4 separate regions of the Homo sapiens genome follow, and regions 1, 3 and 4 are each linked to region 2. Evidence: promoter capture Hi-C in 16 types of primary human blood cells and fetal thymus (Javierre and others, 2016). All regions are on one chromosome and are shown on one strand. Each heading gives the region's core, a stretch centred on a gene start or on the middle of the fragment in contact. The rest is flanking DNA. Distances are from core to core; before and after follow the strand shown.

What was found. Contacts are between HindIII fragments. The CHiCAGO score rates a contact against its expected background, and 5 or more counts as called.
Region 1: a contact is called between a fragment that was not itself captured here and the fragment with the promoter of ZCCHC4 in region 2, in 2 of 17 cell types (total B cells and naive B cells). The highest score is 5.5, in total B cells.
Region 3: a contact is called between a fragment that was not itself captured here and the fragment with the promoter of ZCCHC4 in region 2, in 3 of 17 cell types (non-activated CD4 T cells, naive CD8 T cells and total CD8 T cells). The highest score is 7.2, in non-activated CD4 T cells.
Region 4: a fragment that was not itself captured here is called in contact with the fragment with the promoter of ZCCHC4 in region 2 in 3 of 17 cell types (erythroblasts, fetal thymus and monocytes); the score reaches 6.6 in erythroblasts.

What each region holds. Positions count from the first base shown.
Region 1 is chr4:24,566,825-24,570,422 of GRCh38, reverse strand. All of the region lies in intron 3 of DHX15 (DEAH-box helicase 15), which reads left to right. Among named protein-coding and RNA genes, the nearest start is that of DHX15, 16 kb to the left of the region's middle. The HindIII fragment of the contact is 520 bases long and covers 1,463-1,982 here.
Region 2 is chr4:25,310,844-25,314,440 of GRCh38, reverse strand. ZCCHC4 (zinc finger CCHC-type containing 4) reads right to left here and starts at 1,667. Exons shown (of 13, transcript NM_024936.3): 1 at 1,505-1,667; 2 at 277-395. The coding sequence starts at 1,631. RefSeq lists enhancers at 1,549-1,608, 1,137-2,013 and silencers at 1,607-1,811, 1,819-1,888. The HindIII fragment of the contact is 7,197 bases long and covers 1-3,597 here.
Region 3 is chr4:25,912,493-25,915,839 of GRCh38, reverse strand. SMIM20 (small integral membrane protein 20) reads right to left here and starts at 1,620. Exons shown (of 3, transcript NM_001145432.3): 1 at 1,418-1,620. The coding sequence starts at 1,526. LOC105374538 (a long non-coding RNA gene) reads left to right here and starts at 1,754. Exons shown (of 3, transcript XR_925502.3): 1 at 1,754-1,829. RefSeq lists enhancers at 1,375-1,504, 1,575-1,674, 1,784-2,333 and a silencer at 1,715-1,894. The HindIII fragment of the contact is 3,206 bases long and covers 412-3,347 here.
Region 4 is chr4:24,550,594-24,553,820 of GRCh38, reverse strand. The region is part of intron 5 of DHX15 (DEAH-box helicase 15); the gene reads left to right. Among named protein-coding and RNA genes, the nearest start is that of MIR573, 32 kb to the right of the region's middle. RefSeq lists an enhancer at 63-631. The HindIII fragment of the contact is 3,436 bases long and covers 1-3,227 here.

The DNA of each region.
Region 1 (3,598 bases), core at 473-2,972, 740 kb after region 2:
TTAGGTGAAATGTTACTGATACTGTAAAATGTGTGGTTTTAGTAGACACAATGGTGTATGACTTAATTGTGAAAGAAAAGGAAAGTGATATGTCTTACTTAGTAAAAGATAACTACTTTTAGAAAGAAGAATGTATAGGATGGGATGTGATTTATTTAGGGGAGAGGGGACTTTTAATGTTAATTATGCAGCTATTACCGTGCATCTGTTATAAGCTAAAAAGAGGAATCTTTTGTTCTGTAATACACTGTTAGAGCTGCCTCTAGGTCCTTGTTCCTCTATAGCTATGGTGCAGATAATTGACTACTGTATTGAGCTTTCTAATGTTTTAACTCTACCAACTTTTTATTGTCTTATACTTGCATTCTGCATAAGTTATGATGTATGCTACCTGATGATGATTCTTTCTCAAGTCTTCCCTCTGGTTGCTTCTGCTTATTCTGTATTTATGTGATATTTAAGTCCTTTTAAATGTGACTTGTTTGAGTGGGGCTCAGTGGCATATGCCTGTTTATTCCCAGCCACTTCGTAGGCTGAAGCAGGATTATTGCTTGAGGCCAGGAGTTCAAGGCTACAGTGTGCTCTGATCATGCCTGTGATAGCTACTGCATTTGAACCTGAGCAACATAGCAAGACCACATTTCTTTTAAAAAAAAAGAAAAATCATATCTATGTGATCTTCTCCCTGAGGTTTTTAAAAACCATTTTGGAGCGTTGTGTAGGCAGTGATATGAGTCTTTGTTGTCAGAGTCTTTGTTGTCAGAGAGATATATAGTGTTAATGGGATAAATGAAACAAGAGTCTCTCTTTTTTTTTTTTTTTTTTTTTTTTGAGATGGAGTCTCACTCTGTTGCCCAGGCTGGAGTGCAGTGGCGCCATCTCGGCTCTCTGCAACCTCCGCCTCCCGGGTTCAAGCGATTCTCCTGCCTCAGCCTCTCAGGTAGCTGGGACTATAGGTGTGCGCCACCATGCCTGGCTAACTTTTTGTATCTTTAGTAGAGTTGTGGTTTCACTATGTTGGCCAGGCTGGTCTCTAACTCCTGACCTCATGATCCGCCCGCCTCAGCCTCCCACAGTGCTGGGATTACAGGCGTGAGCCACTACACCCAGCCGCAGAAATTGAATAGAATAATGAACTGCATGTGTTTATCATCGACTTTTAACTATTTCAGTCTTATTTATTTCATATCCAATCTTAATTTATTTCCCTGTCCCATGTTATTTCGAAGCAGTCTTAGATACCAAATAATTATATATATAAATATTTCAGTGTGTATCTCTGAGATAGTTTCTTAAAATAGAGCTATCATAACTTAAAACAATTTATTGGATCAAAATATCCAGTTTTCATTCAACATTTGTGTCAGTTTTTTCTAATTCTTTGATTTATCTCATTTTATTAGAACTTTTTATTCAGCGTGATATTTAATAGCAGTTGAACTTTAAAATATTTAAATAAGCTTATCCTTATGACTTTATGGGACATATTTTTGGCTTAAACCTTAATCTTCACTGAATAAATTCTTGTAGTTGTTCAGTGATACGTTATTGATCACTGGTAATTACAGTATAATTGACAATAATTGCATAAGCAAAATCATAGCTCATTATGTTGTATTACTTTAAAATGCAGGTAATGTCAAGGACTTGAGGATAATAAGGGGGAGATTTTACTCATCTTTAGGAGGAATATCATTATTCTGACTTGATTCACATTGCATTGAATTTTTTTGGTAAGCCACAGTTGAGAACAGAATTTGGAAATTGGGATACAAGAAAGTTATGCAATATTGGTGCTGTGTGTATGTGTAGTAGGAAGTGGGTGGAGGATAGGCTTTCAAAAGATGAGTACCTCTGAAAGATTTTGGTTCACTTCATAGGGAATGACAAGTAACAGATTTTATAGTTCAAATGAAGTATTTTTGGCATTGTGATTTTTTTAATGGAGCATTTTCTAGAGGTTATAACTACTTGTAAAAGCTTACTTAAGACAGGGTAAGCTTATTGGGGTTTCTTCTAGGAGCTAACCTGGTGTTGCCTTTAAGTAATATAAGTAAAGGAGTGTATTATTACAATAAGTTAGCTTAAAATTTAAAAATTTCAAATGTAACTTTGCTATTTGATAGGAAGAACTTAACTAATGGGAATGCTTCATTAAATGTAGCTCTTATCATATATAGATATAAAATGCTTATATATCCATTGTGTAGCCAGGGCGAACTTTAATTTTCACTCTAGGGTGGTAAAGAGGCTAACTTAGGCAGATTATGTTTGAGGAGCACAGAATTTAACCATAGTTTGAGAGCATTTTAGCTAAATAAAGTATCTTTAAATTGTCCGCATATAGATTAAGGGTCTATAAGATAGTTTCTTCAGTGTTTGGGATACCTATTCATAAATTTTAGGTTATAGATCTGACACTGTGCTCTTTTCGGAAGATTGGATCTGGTATAACTTAGTGCACACTCTGTTAGTCTAGCCTTAAATGGCTACCCCATCCCAGTGAACAAGTAAGTTTACAAAGCTGCCACTCCTAAATGGTTTTTATATTTCCTTTTTTATGTGTTTGCTTGTCCCCATCCTTTTCTTCTGAAGCATTCTTTTTGCAACATACTTACTTTCCTGTTTTCTTGGAGTGGAAATTATGAAGAAAAAACCCAAAGAGATACCTAAAGAGCTTACCAGTCAGGGAACAATATATTGCTGTATTTGTGACTAGTCAGTGTAAAATACCTTGATTCATTTTGATGTAAGGAAGGAGAGGTTGTTGGCTTCTGGTGTAGCCCTTTTGCAGTGGATTTTAAGAAGCATTTGTCTGTGGTTGTAACTTTTTTTTTTTTTTTTTGGAGACGGAGTCTTGCTCTGTCGCCCAGGCTGGAGTGCAGTGGCACGATCTCGGCTCACTGCAGCCTCCACCTCGCGGGTTCAAGCCATTCTCCTGCCTCAGCCTCCCAAGTAGCTGAGATTACAGGCCCCCGCCACCACGCCCAGCTAATTTTTGTATTTTTAGTAGAGACGGGGTTTCACCACATTGGCCAGGCTGGTCTCAAACTCCTGACCTTGTGATCCGCCCGCCTCTGCCTCCCAAAGTGCTGGGATTACAGGCAGCCGCCACCACGCCCAGCCTGGTTGTAACATATTTTAATTCAGGAAATCACCTTCAGTTTTTTGAAGGAGCTGATAATTTTTTAGGGAAGAAAACAATTTGATAATCTTGTAAGCGTAGAAAAACGTAATAATTGAAGTTGTTAATTTGGTAGGTAATTTTACTGTTATTTTAGGTGATATGCTTCCTTTTTATTTTTTCGTAAGCTGTAAAATTAGAGATTTTTGTGTTGAAGGAATCTAATAATTTGTACACATAATGATTAGTCATTCAGTCAGCTAATAGTTAAGTACCTTCTATGTGTTGGGCAGTACTAGGTATAATGAAAAGTGAATCTAGTCCCTGTTCTTGTTAAAGCAAATAAAAATGTAAATAAAAAGTTTGACATTGTGATTAACCTTCTGAAGTAGAATATGGGTGTTTATATGAAAGAATGATTTGAGAATAAGTTTAGGTGGGAAGATGTTGGATTTATTTATTTATTTTTGAGAT
Region 2 (3,597 bases), core at 418-2,917:
AGAAGCCCAAGCTAACACACAGAAGATCAGCCCCACCCAATATTACCACCTCAGAGAGTCTTATGGGGAAATAAGACTTTGAGACAGTAGTTTAAGATATCAGTAATCAGAGTAAACATGAACTCATTTTCTGAACCAACAAACATAGTATCTCCATCTCTCTTAAGAGATTTATCTTGTATGTTCAGACCGCATATTTTTATTGGTTTACACGTTCTCAACAAAATTGTCACACATACCAAAAATAAAAAATAAATATCCAAAAAGTTGATATACCTTTTCATCTTCCCACTGAAAAAAATTACAGTCTTTTCTATCTCTACAGGCTGAACAGGCATAAAACCTCCGAGTTTCTTCTTTCCCTTGGGTCACCTTTACAAACAGAAGAGTGGGTCCTAGTTCCAGAATAGAAAAAAAAAAAAAAAGTGTCAAGTAATGGTCATCTACGTCAAGTTCTTAGTTTTCGCTGCCCTTAAATAAAATTTGTTTGAGCTTTAGGCACAATTTATCATAATTAAATCCATCTCTTTGGTTGGTTGTTTTTTGTTTTGTTAGGGTTTTTTGTTTTGTTTTCTTGAGACAGGGTCTCCCTCTGTCGCCCAGGCTGAAGCGCACTGGCACAATCATGGCTCACTGAGATCCTGCTTCCTAGCCTCAAGCGATTCTCCCGCCTCAGCATCCCGAGTAGCTGGGACTACAGTTGCGTGTCCCCAGCTGTTTTTCTTTTTTTGTAGACGGAGTGTCATCATTTTTGCCCGGGCTAGTCTCAAACTCCTGGGCTCAAGCGATCAGCCCGCCTCGGCCCCCCAAGTGCTGGAACTACAGGTGCACGCCACCACGCCGGCTTCTCTGTGTTTAATGAATGTTTCTTTTCTCTCTGTTACAACATTCCGGCAGTGACTACTTATAAATAATTTTTGAAAACCGGTCTCTTCAGAAAGAAAATGCTATTGTCGGTACAGTTGCTGTCTACGTTGTGAATATTACAAACCTGAGACTAAAACAAGGAAGGGACTCAGAGAATTGAGGACTTTGACATCTCTTGCGCGGTTACCCTTGCAGTGAAAACCTGAGCTTTGAGCTGGAAACGCCCACTTTCTGTAAGTTAGAGAAAAACTGAGTCTAGTTCGCAGGCAAGAATTACACTGTTTTTCTCCCTAATTTTTTATTTTTGAAGGGAGAGCAAATCAACAAATGAAATCCCCAAGTACTTGTCAACGAGAACTATTCAATACCATGCATTCTTCTCTTTGCCTACTTTTCTGCCCCTTCCCCCCAAAAGAGATGAAATAGTCCTGGAGCCAAAACCACAAGAGTGGAGACTTGCTCTGAATGTTTCTCAAGTAAGTTGAAAAACACCGCGTTCCGAGGAAGGAGTATTTTCTAGGCAGCACACTGGTGAGGGAAAGAGGCGGGTAAAAATACAGGAGCCCCAAAAGCCACTTCCAAGCCAACTCACACCCTCAGCGCCCGGCAGTTAGGCTGAGCCCAGACTCTGACCCACCGTGAGGGCACAGCGGGGCGGGGACGGCAGGATCCAAAGGAAGCACCACCTCCATTCCCGAGCTTCCCCGGCACCCTGCGCTGCCCTCTGCCTCCACGGCTTCAAACCCATTCCTGGAGGCCGCCATCTTCCCGCCGCCGTCCCGAAAGCCTCAGTACGAAACAAGAATGCTGAGAAAGAGCGCCCCCGCGACCCAAAGCGACCCACAGCGCCCCCAGGCGCTTAGGAGGAGCTTGGGCGGGGGCTGCCGCGGCGGAGGCCACGCCCCGAAACGCAGTCCCCGCCCACCTGGGGGCTGCACCTAAGCGGCCCCTAGCGGTGGGGCTCGCAGGTCACTTGCGGGACCTGTGCCATGAGCTCAGCGCATGAAGCACCCTCCTTTCTTAAGAATATAGCCAGGAAGTGAGATGATTCGAACAAAGACTTGGTTGTATTGTAGGTCCAAAAGGCAGCATTACCACCTCTGCCAAATAGCTGAAATGGCTGCAGCAGCTGTGATTTAAGGATCATTCTTTGTTTTTCAAAGTCACAGTCACTGCATCATCCTCTGTAACTTTTGGACAATGCTGAAAGTTGCACATCATAGTTGCATACTCATTGACATTTATACATAAGAAAGAAAGAAAACCGTCCTGATTTGCAGATGACATGATTGTCCACATTTTAAAAATCCGAAAGAATCTATCAGGAAAACACCTCCGGTTTAAACTGAGTTCAGCAAGGTTGCAGGATATGAGATAAACACACAAACATCAACTGGATTTCTAAATACTAGCAATGATCACAAGAACACTAAAAAATAGAATACCACTTACAATCACTCAAATAAATGAAATAGGTGTAAATCTAACGAAATATGTACAGAGCTTTATGTATGCTAAAAACTCCAAAATGCTTGATTAAAAAAAATCAAGGCTGAGTGCAGTGGCTCACACCTGTAATCCCAGCACTTTGGGGGGCCAAGGAGGGAGGATTGCTTGAATCCAGGAGTTCGAAACCAGCCCGGGCAACAAAGCGAGACGACATCTCTAAAATAAATAAGCAATTTTTAAAGTTTTTTAAAAATCAAAGAATAGCCGGGCACGGTGGCTCACGCCTATAATCCCAGAATTTTGGGAGGCCAAGGCAGGTGGATCACAAGGTCAGGAGATCGAGACCATCCTGGCTAACACCGTGAAACCCCGTCTCTACTAAAAATACTAAAAATACAAAAACAAAAAAATTAGCCAGGCGTGGTGGCGGGCACCTGTAGTCCCAGCTACTCGGGAGGCTGAGGCAGGAGAATGGCGTGAACCCGGAAGGCGGAGCTTGCAGTGAGCCGAGATTGTGCCACTGCACTCCAGCCTGGGTGACAGAGTGAGACTCCGTCTTAAAAAAAAAAAAAAAAAATCAAAGAATAAACAAATGCAGAAACATACTGCATTCATAAATCAGAAGACTCAACATAGTAAAGATATCAGTTCTCCCCAGGTTTAATGCTTATACAGGTGTAGCACAATTGCTATGAAAATCCCAGCCAGATTCTTTTTGTACATTTAGACAATATTCTGAAATTTATATGGAAAGGCAAGGGAACTAAAATAGCTAAAACAATTTTGGAAAAAGAATAATGAAGTGGGAGGAATCAGCCTACTCAATTTCAAGTCTTATAGTGCAGTAATCAAGACGCAGCCACATGTCTATGGTTGTAGACGAAATAGTCTCTTATGTTATTTAAAGAACCATTGGGGCATGTGCCTAGTTAACTTCACACATTGAGTGCTATGGTTTATTACTGTAAAAACATGGCTGTTTTTCTTTCACATTTCATGTAATGGTTTTACTCAAATTCTCCATCTGCACCAGTAGCATCTGTATCTTTGATGTACCAGTGTCCCCTTTTTCAAGTTGTCCAGAACACTTTTTCAGTGTATATTATCTGCACATGTCTGGTCTTTTGAGATAGGAAACTTTCTACAGCTATGATGATGATACTCTCGGACACTATCTCAAGACCTAACTAGCTGGGCACACATTCTCAGGACCCCTTGAGACAGTGCCCTAGGCAGAATAAAAACTAAAAGACCTAACTACCTACTCACATGAACTCTAGC
Region 3 (3,347 bases), core at 765-3,264, 600 kb before region 2:
AAGCAAAAATGTCTCCAGATTGAGCCAAATATCCTGCGGGGCAAAATCACCCCTAGATGAGAACCACAGCTCTAGTTTTCAGAACTGACTTTTCCAATGGGATGCAAAGCAGACCCTTTGTCCCAAGTTCTAGTGGCCTCAATATAATCGCTGGGGCAGGCGTCCGCTGAAGAAGGATGGTGGAAACAGATCCCGCAGGGCTTCACACAGCCCACCTTACTCCCACGCATGGTGCATGCAGATAAGCTGGAAGGCAGAACACAGTGGCCATTTCAGTCTTGGCTAATGAAAAGAAGCTACAAGGAAATCTGAGTGTGCACTTAAAACGCTCTGCCTCCAGAAATCGACTGCTGCAACATTTGTAATGGGCAGAACATTTACACGGAGCTTTCGCCTTCAATTCGCCAAGCTTTCAGTGTCCGTTAATATTCCCAAGGGACAGGGTTGGCCCTCTTCCATCTTCAAGATGATTCGGGTTTCCTGGTGAACAAAATGAGCCTCTAATGCCTAATATTTTCTGTCTGACAGATGGTTTCAGATGTATCAAAGTGCTAATCCTTGCTGAGGTATAGGTCTCAAGGAAGAAGAGTTTGGCTTTTAGAATGATAGGACTGGAATGATTAAGAAGGAAAATTACTCCCAGGATTTCACCATTACCATGTGAGCAATCGGCTTAAAACGAAGGAAACAAGCAGAATCGGAAAAACAATTTGAGGAAAAAGAAGAGAAAACACTACAAACCCCAGGTTAACAGTTTGGGTTTGAAACAGTCCCACTCAAAAAACATCTTGGGGAGTGGAAATGAAGTGCAGTAAAAGCACCTTTCCACTCAGAAGGATCAGGGTTCCATCTGGCTCCCCCAGTCACCATTCTCAGCCTGGGTGCTTGGAGGAGGCTCTGGACAGAGGCCTGGGGTTGGATATATTTGCCTTGTCACTTACTTGCTGTGTGACCTTGGGAACGTTATAAAACCTCTGAGCCTCTCAGTTCCCTCATTTGTAAAATGGGCATGTTTTACATATATACTTCAAGGTGAGCTTGTGCAAATGAAACGATCCAACATATGCCTAACCTGACGTGTAATAGGCATTCAGTGAATTTTAACTGTAAATATGAACTGGTACTTAGCGTCGACTTATGTGAGGACTGCTTTCATATACATGATCACCTGAGTCTCACAGGAGGCTCGGCATTTTAGCATAGATGACGTAGCCACAAACATTCACAGATGAGGATACTGAGAGTCCTAGAGGTTGAGCAACTTGTCCACGGTCACAAAGCTGCACATGGCAGGATTCGAACCCGGCTCTCCCTAACCCTCGAGCCAAGTTCTTTCCACGGCACCACGTGGAGCTCACAGAGGGGAGGTGTGTGTGTTGGGGAGTCAGGTCACCGCAAGGGGTTAGAGATCACTCACTGTACTCCTCCAATCTCATTAGGGGCCGGAAGTAGATGGGATAGAAGGCGGCGCCGATCAGGGAGATGAAGCCGCCGAAAATGAGCGCGGTGCGCAGGTTCCGGGACATGGCGTCAGGCCCCGGGCTGCCCTGACCCGCCGACCGCCCGGCACTCTCGGAAACCAGGTTACCGACGGCCGGGCCGTGACCCCGCTCGGAAGAGGTGGAGAGGCTTTCGCTTCCGGGCCTTGAGGGAGGGACGAGGAGGAGGGGCGGAGCGGAGAAAGAGACAGGGGTGGAGTCAGAGGCGGGGCCTCAAGGCTGGGGGCGGGGCCAGGAAAGGGGTGGGGTCACAGGCGGGGCCTCGGACCCCGCCCTCCGCCTTCCCCGGGATTCCGTGCTGTGCGGGCCGGGCGCTGGCGTTGGATTGAGGTTGGAGCTGTTTTGCTGCACTCGATTCCCGCGGGCCCTGTTCTGTCTACTTTCCTTCCTTCGGCCCGGTTCCTCCCTCAGCACCCTCCAGACCTCCTTTACCATCGCCTTCTTTACCAGCCAGCTTTCTCGTCCATCCCCCGTTAATTTCTTAATTAGCGACTGTCCGCCGTGCGCCAGATGCTCTCTGTCGCTCGCGCAATTAATCCTTTTATCAGTCTGCTTAGTTTACAGGAGAGGGAACCGCGGCTCCGCTGCGCGGCTTTGGACGAGTCACTCGTCCTTCTTGAGGGAGGTTTGTACGTATCAGAGACAAAGGGGCAAATCTCTGGCCCGAGAGGGCCTGCTGGGGGATTCTAAAACCGGAGCTGCGGGGCTTCTGCACCAAGACTAGCCTAGGAGGAACGTTGTTTCAGCATCCGAGCTACTCTCTTTCTCCATCCCATCCTCTCTCCCTCCATCCCATCCTCTCTCCCTGTTCCCTGTGCTGGGATGCCTTGGCCAAGGCAGAGAGCCAGCATCCGGTCCCATCCATGGGGCCACGGGGCGCTTCCGTATTGTCTGGGTGGGGGCCACCGAGAACAGATACCTGTTTCCTCCTCCTCAAGTTGCCATCCTCCGCCCTCTGCACCACACTGCCCTTACAAGTGGGCTGTGCCTGACTATGACCTGCCCAGGGATACTGGGCAGCTGAGACACAGATTCCTTGGGCCTCCATGCCTTTATAAATAGGAATCATGCCAGCAGCTGGGCCTGGGGAGCAAAGAGGATATCTGTCTTGACCCTAGCAGCATTATTTAGGCCACAACAGATCTACAAGCGTTTCAAAATAGCTTGGAGAGGACAGGTTTCCTCTTTCTTTGTAATCTTGTAGTTGCATCAAGCTACTGTCTACCTCTGTGGCTCTAGAAGCATGTAAATCAGTTATTCAATCTCTCCCCAGATTCATGGACTATCTGCCATGCCCCAAACACCAGGCAGAGTGCTAAGGGGACACAAAGATGAATAAGATGTGACCCCTGCTCTCTAGGATCCTGTCGCATAGATGAAGAGATAGAACATATCCATAAAAAGATAACTAATGACCGACATTGCGTGCTGCCGACACGTGTTATGGTCCTGCGGGCTACAGAAATTCAGAGGAGGAAGACAGATGACTGCAGTGTGGCAGCTGCTCCTCGGGCACTTACAGGAGCTTGTTAGGATGAGGACAGAAGACTTCATAGCACAGAGGGAACTGTGACACCAGCTTTATATCACACGATAGAAAATACCCAGGTGAGGGCTGTGGACAGTGGCTCACGCCTGTAATCCTAGCACTTTGGGAGGCTGAGGTGGGTGGATCATGAGGTCAGGAGTTCGAGACCAGACTGGCCAGCATGGTGAAACCCCGTCTCTACTAAAAATACAAAAAAATTAGCCGGGCGTGGTGGTGCACGCCTGTAGTCCCAGCTACCTGGGAGGCTGAGGCAAGAGAATAGCTGGAACCTGGGAGGCAGAGCTTGCAGTGAGCTGAGA
Region 4 (3,227 bases), core at 373-2,872, 760 kb after region 2:
TTTACGAAAGGGTTTTTCTTTTTCTTTTTGGGGGTGGGGAGGGAAGACAGAGTCGCGCTCTGTCAACCAGGCTGGAGCGCAGTGGCATGATTATCGGCTCACTGCAACCTCTGCCTCCCGGGTTCAAGCGATTCTCTTGCCTCAGCCTCCCAAGTAGCTGGGATCACAGGTGCCCACCATCACACCTGGCTAATTTTTTTTTAATTTTTAGTAGAGACGGGGTTTCACTATGTTGGCCAGGCTAGTCTCGAACTCCTGACCTCAGGTGATCTGCCCTTCTCGGGTTCCCAAAGTGCTGGGATTATAGGCGCGAGCCACCACACCTGGCCCCAAAATGCTTTTTTGATGGCATATAAACAGCATTTGTGCTGTAATGTAGTATTGAGGCTGTTGGGATAATCGTTTTGTCCTCTTGTGTCTGGTCTCTAGTTTCTCATTTCCTCCAAAGTGCATAGTATATTTTTATTTTTATTTATTTTGTTTTATTATTTATTTATTTGAGATGGAGTTTTGCTCTTGTTGCCCAGGCTGGAGTGCAGTGGCGCGATCTCGGCTCACCGCAACCTCTGCCTCCCAGGTTCAGGTGATTCTCCTGCCTCAGCCTTCCGAGTAGCTGGGATTACAGGCATGCGCCACCATGCCCAACTAATTGGTATTTTTGGTAGAGATGGGGTTTCTCCGTGTTGGTCAGGCTGGTCTTGAACTCCCAACTTCAGGTGATCCACCCGCCTCGGCCTCCCAAAGTGCTGGGATTACAGGCGTGAGCCACTGCACCTGGCCATATTTTTATTTTTTAAATCACTATTTAAAATTGTCATCATTCTCAGATAACATAAGCGTATTGAGATTCTATCAGAAATATCAAATGGCCTCATGGTTAAGGACCCGAAAGGTTTTTCTCTGAGACAACTTTGTGCGGTATTTTCTGTGAATCCCACAGCTGGGGAAAGGAAGGGAGTAAGCCGAAGGGTTTTCAGATGTATGCTAGAGTGTCTTTCATGAAATAAAATGCTGCTCTAGTTGTCAGCTGTTTTTTTGCATACCATTGCTTCTTTAAGTTATCTTTAGATTCCCAGTCTTGAATTTGAAGAGTTTTGGGGAGAAGGTAGCAGAAAACCTAACGTTTTGTTTACATTTCATTTGTTGTATTTAGTAGTAGAGCTGGTCTAAAGTAAATATTACCTTCTCATTTTTGTGAACCTTCATTATTTTTACTTGGTAAGTTAAATGCAACTGCGAAATCAGTACTCCTTTCTTCATAAATTTGAATAGCCTCCATGAAATTGAGTAATCTCATAAAAATTTAAAACTGGTTTTTAAGAACATATTCTGACCACTAAATAAAAGTGCTTCTGTAGTCACATGAGTTAATTTGGGAGGGAGAGAGAACAGTTTAAAGTGTTGCCTAGATAGTAATTAGATAAGAGTGATTGTAATTAAATAATTTTATTTTTAATTTTGCTTAGTAAATTTTTTTTTCAACATGCAGTGAGTTAATTGGTAAGGTCCAGATTAATTTACTAACATATTGCTGCTTTTGGAGTTAAAAATCTTTTCTCAAATCAAAAACTCCTGAACTGTCTGTCTTTATTCTCAGTATTGCTAATGACTAAGCAGATGGCTGCTGTTGAAACTTCTTTTCCTCCACTACCTGTTTCTGTTTATATTCTGATGAATGCAGATAAGTTTTGTGGCATTCTCAGCTGATAGTGTTGACTTCTTGGAAGTTTGGCAAACCTCAGGGAAAATTTTTATTGCAAGTTTTAAAGCTGTTTAGGACTTTATCTAAAAACTTAAGTGTTACGGGATTTCTTCCACATTTTAGAGATGCCTTTATATCCTACATAGTCATCATTTTGTTTTAGCTCCTTGCATACTTAGCAGATTGGGTAGTCTAATCTCCAGTAAAGTTGGAATTGTCATTTTAAAATACTGGAATCACAAAGCAAATGTCTAATTTAAGCACTTAATTTTTAATGTGTGAAATCTGGATATTTTGTGATTTCTGAGCATTTATTTTTCATTTATGTACAGTAAAATTAACAAAATTGCAGATACTCTTAAATGTTGGAATCCTAGTTTTATATTATGTTCAAATGTTTTTTAAGTTGGAGAGCTCTTAATTTTTTATTTGCATGCCAGCAGGGGGCATTCTAATCTAGATACAACATTTGAAAGCAGTATTTTCAAAAAATATTTGTTCGCTTTGTTATATTTTTTATTTAGATGAATAGCATCTACTTTCATTTTCTTTTAGAAACTTGAGATTTCAAAGGAGGATCTAGTAACATTGAATCTTTAATAGTTTTCTGTGTCACAATTTTTGAGACAGATAACCTTTAAAAAAAACTGATGTGTTTGAAATAAGTGAAAAGTAATTTATTTGTTCTTACTGTGTTTAAGAACGTTGTGTTTTTTGATATAGAGACACAGTTGGACATTAAAAAAATATAAAGTAAATGTCCTAAAATTCTTCCTCACCGTTTAGTATCATTGTCCTTTGAAAAAAACACGCACTTTGTTGACAAGGGTAGCTTCTGATTGGGTCATTTATTGGACAGGCTGCCTAGTGTATAATAAGCGTTTTACATACTTCTGGGTTTAATTGAATTAATACTTCAATAAAATTTAGAATACATTTGTCCGCAGTGCTGCCTTCCATTTTTAAGTTCCTTTGCCTCTCCCAGAGCTATCATACATAATCTGTCTCTCTCTTTTTTTCCGTCTTGATATTCATTATGTCTCCTCTTGAATGCACATGTGTTAGAATATAGTCATGTGCCACATAACAACGTTTTGGTCAAGACAAACTTCTCAGATAGCTGTGGTGCTGCTCCCGTAAGATTATAGTGGAGCTGAACGTAACCTTGCAGCATCACAGCACAACACATTACTCACTGCTTTGTGATGATGCTAGTTCAAACAAACCTACTTTGCTGCCAGTTGTTTTAAAAGTACTATATAGTATGTACAATTATGTCCAGTACATAATAATAATGATAATAGGACATTGTTAGTGGTTTTTGTATTTACTATACTACATGTTTTATCATTATTTTAGAGTGTTCTCCTTCGACTTAAAAATGTTAACTGTAAAACAGGCTTAGGCAGGTCCTTCAGGAGGTGTTCTAGGAGAAGGCATTGTTATCACAGGAGATGACAGCTCCATGTGTGTTACTGGCCTTTGGAGACCTTCCAGTGGGTTAATACGTTAAGGTGGAAGATAG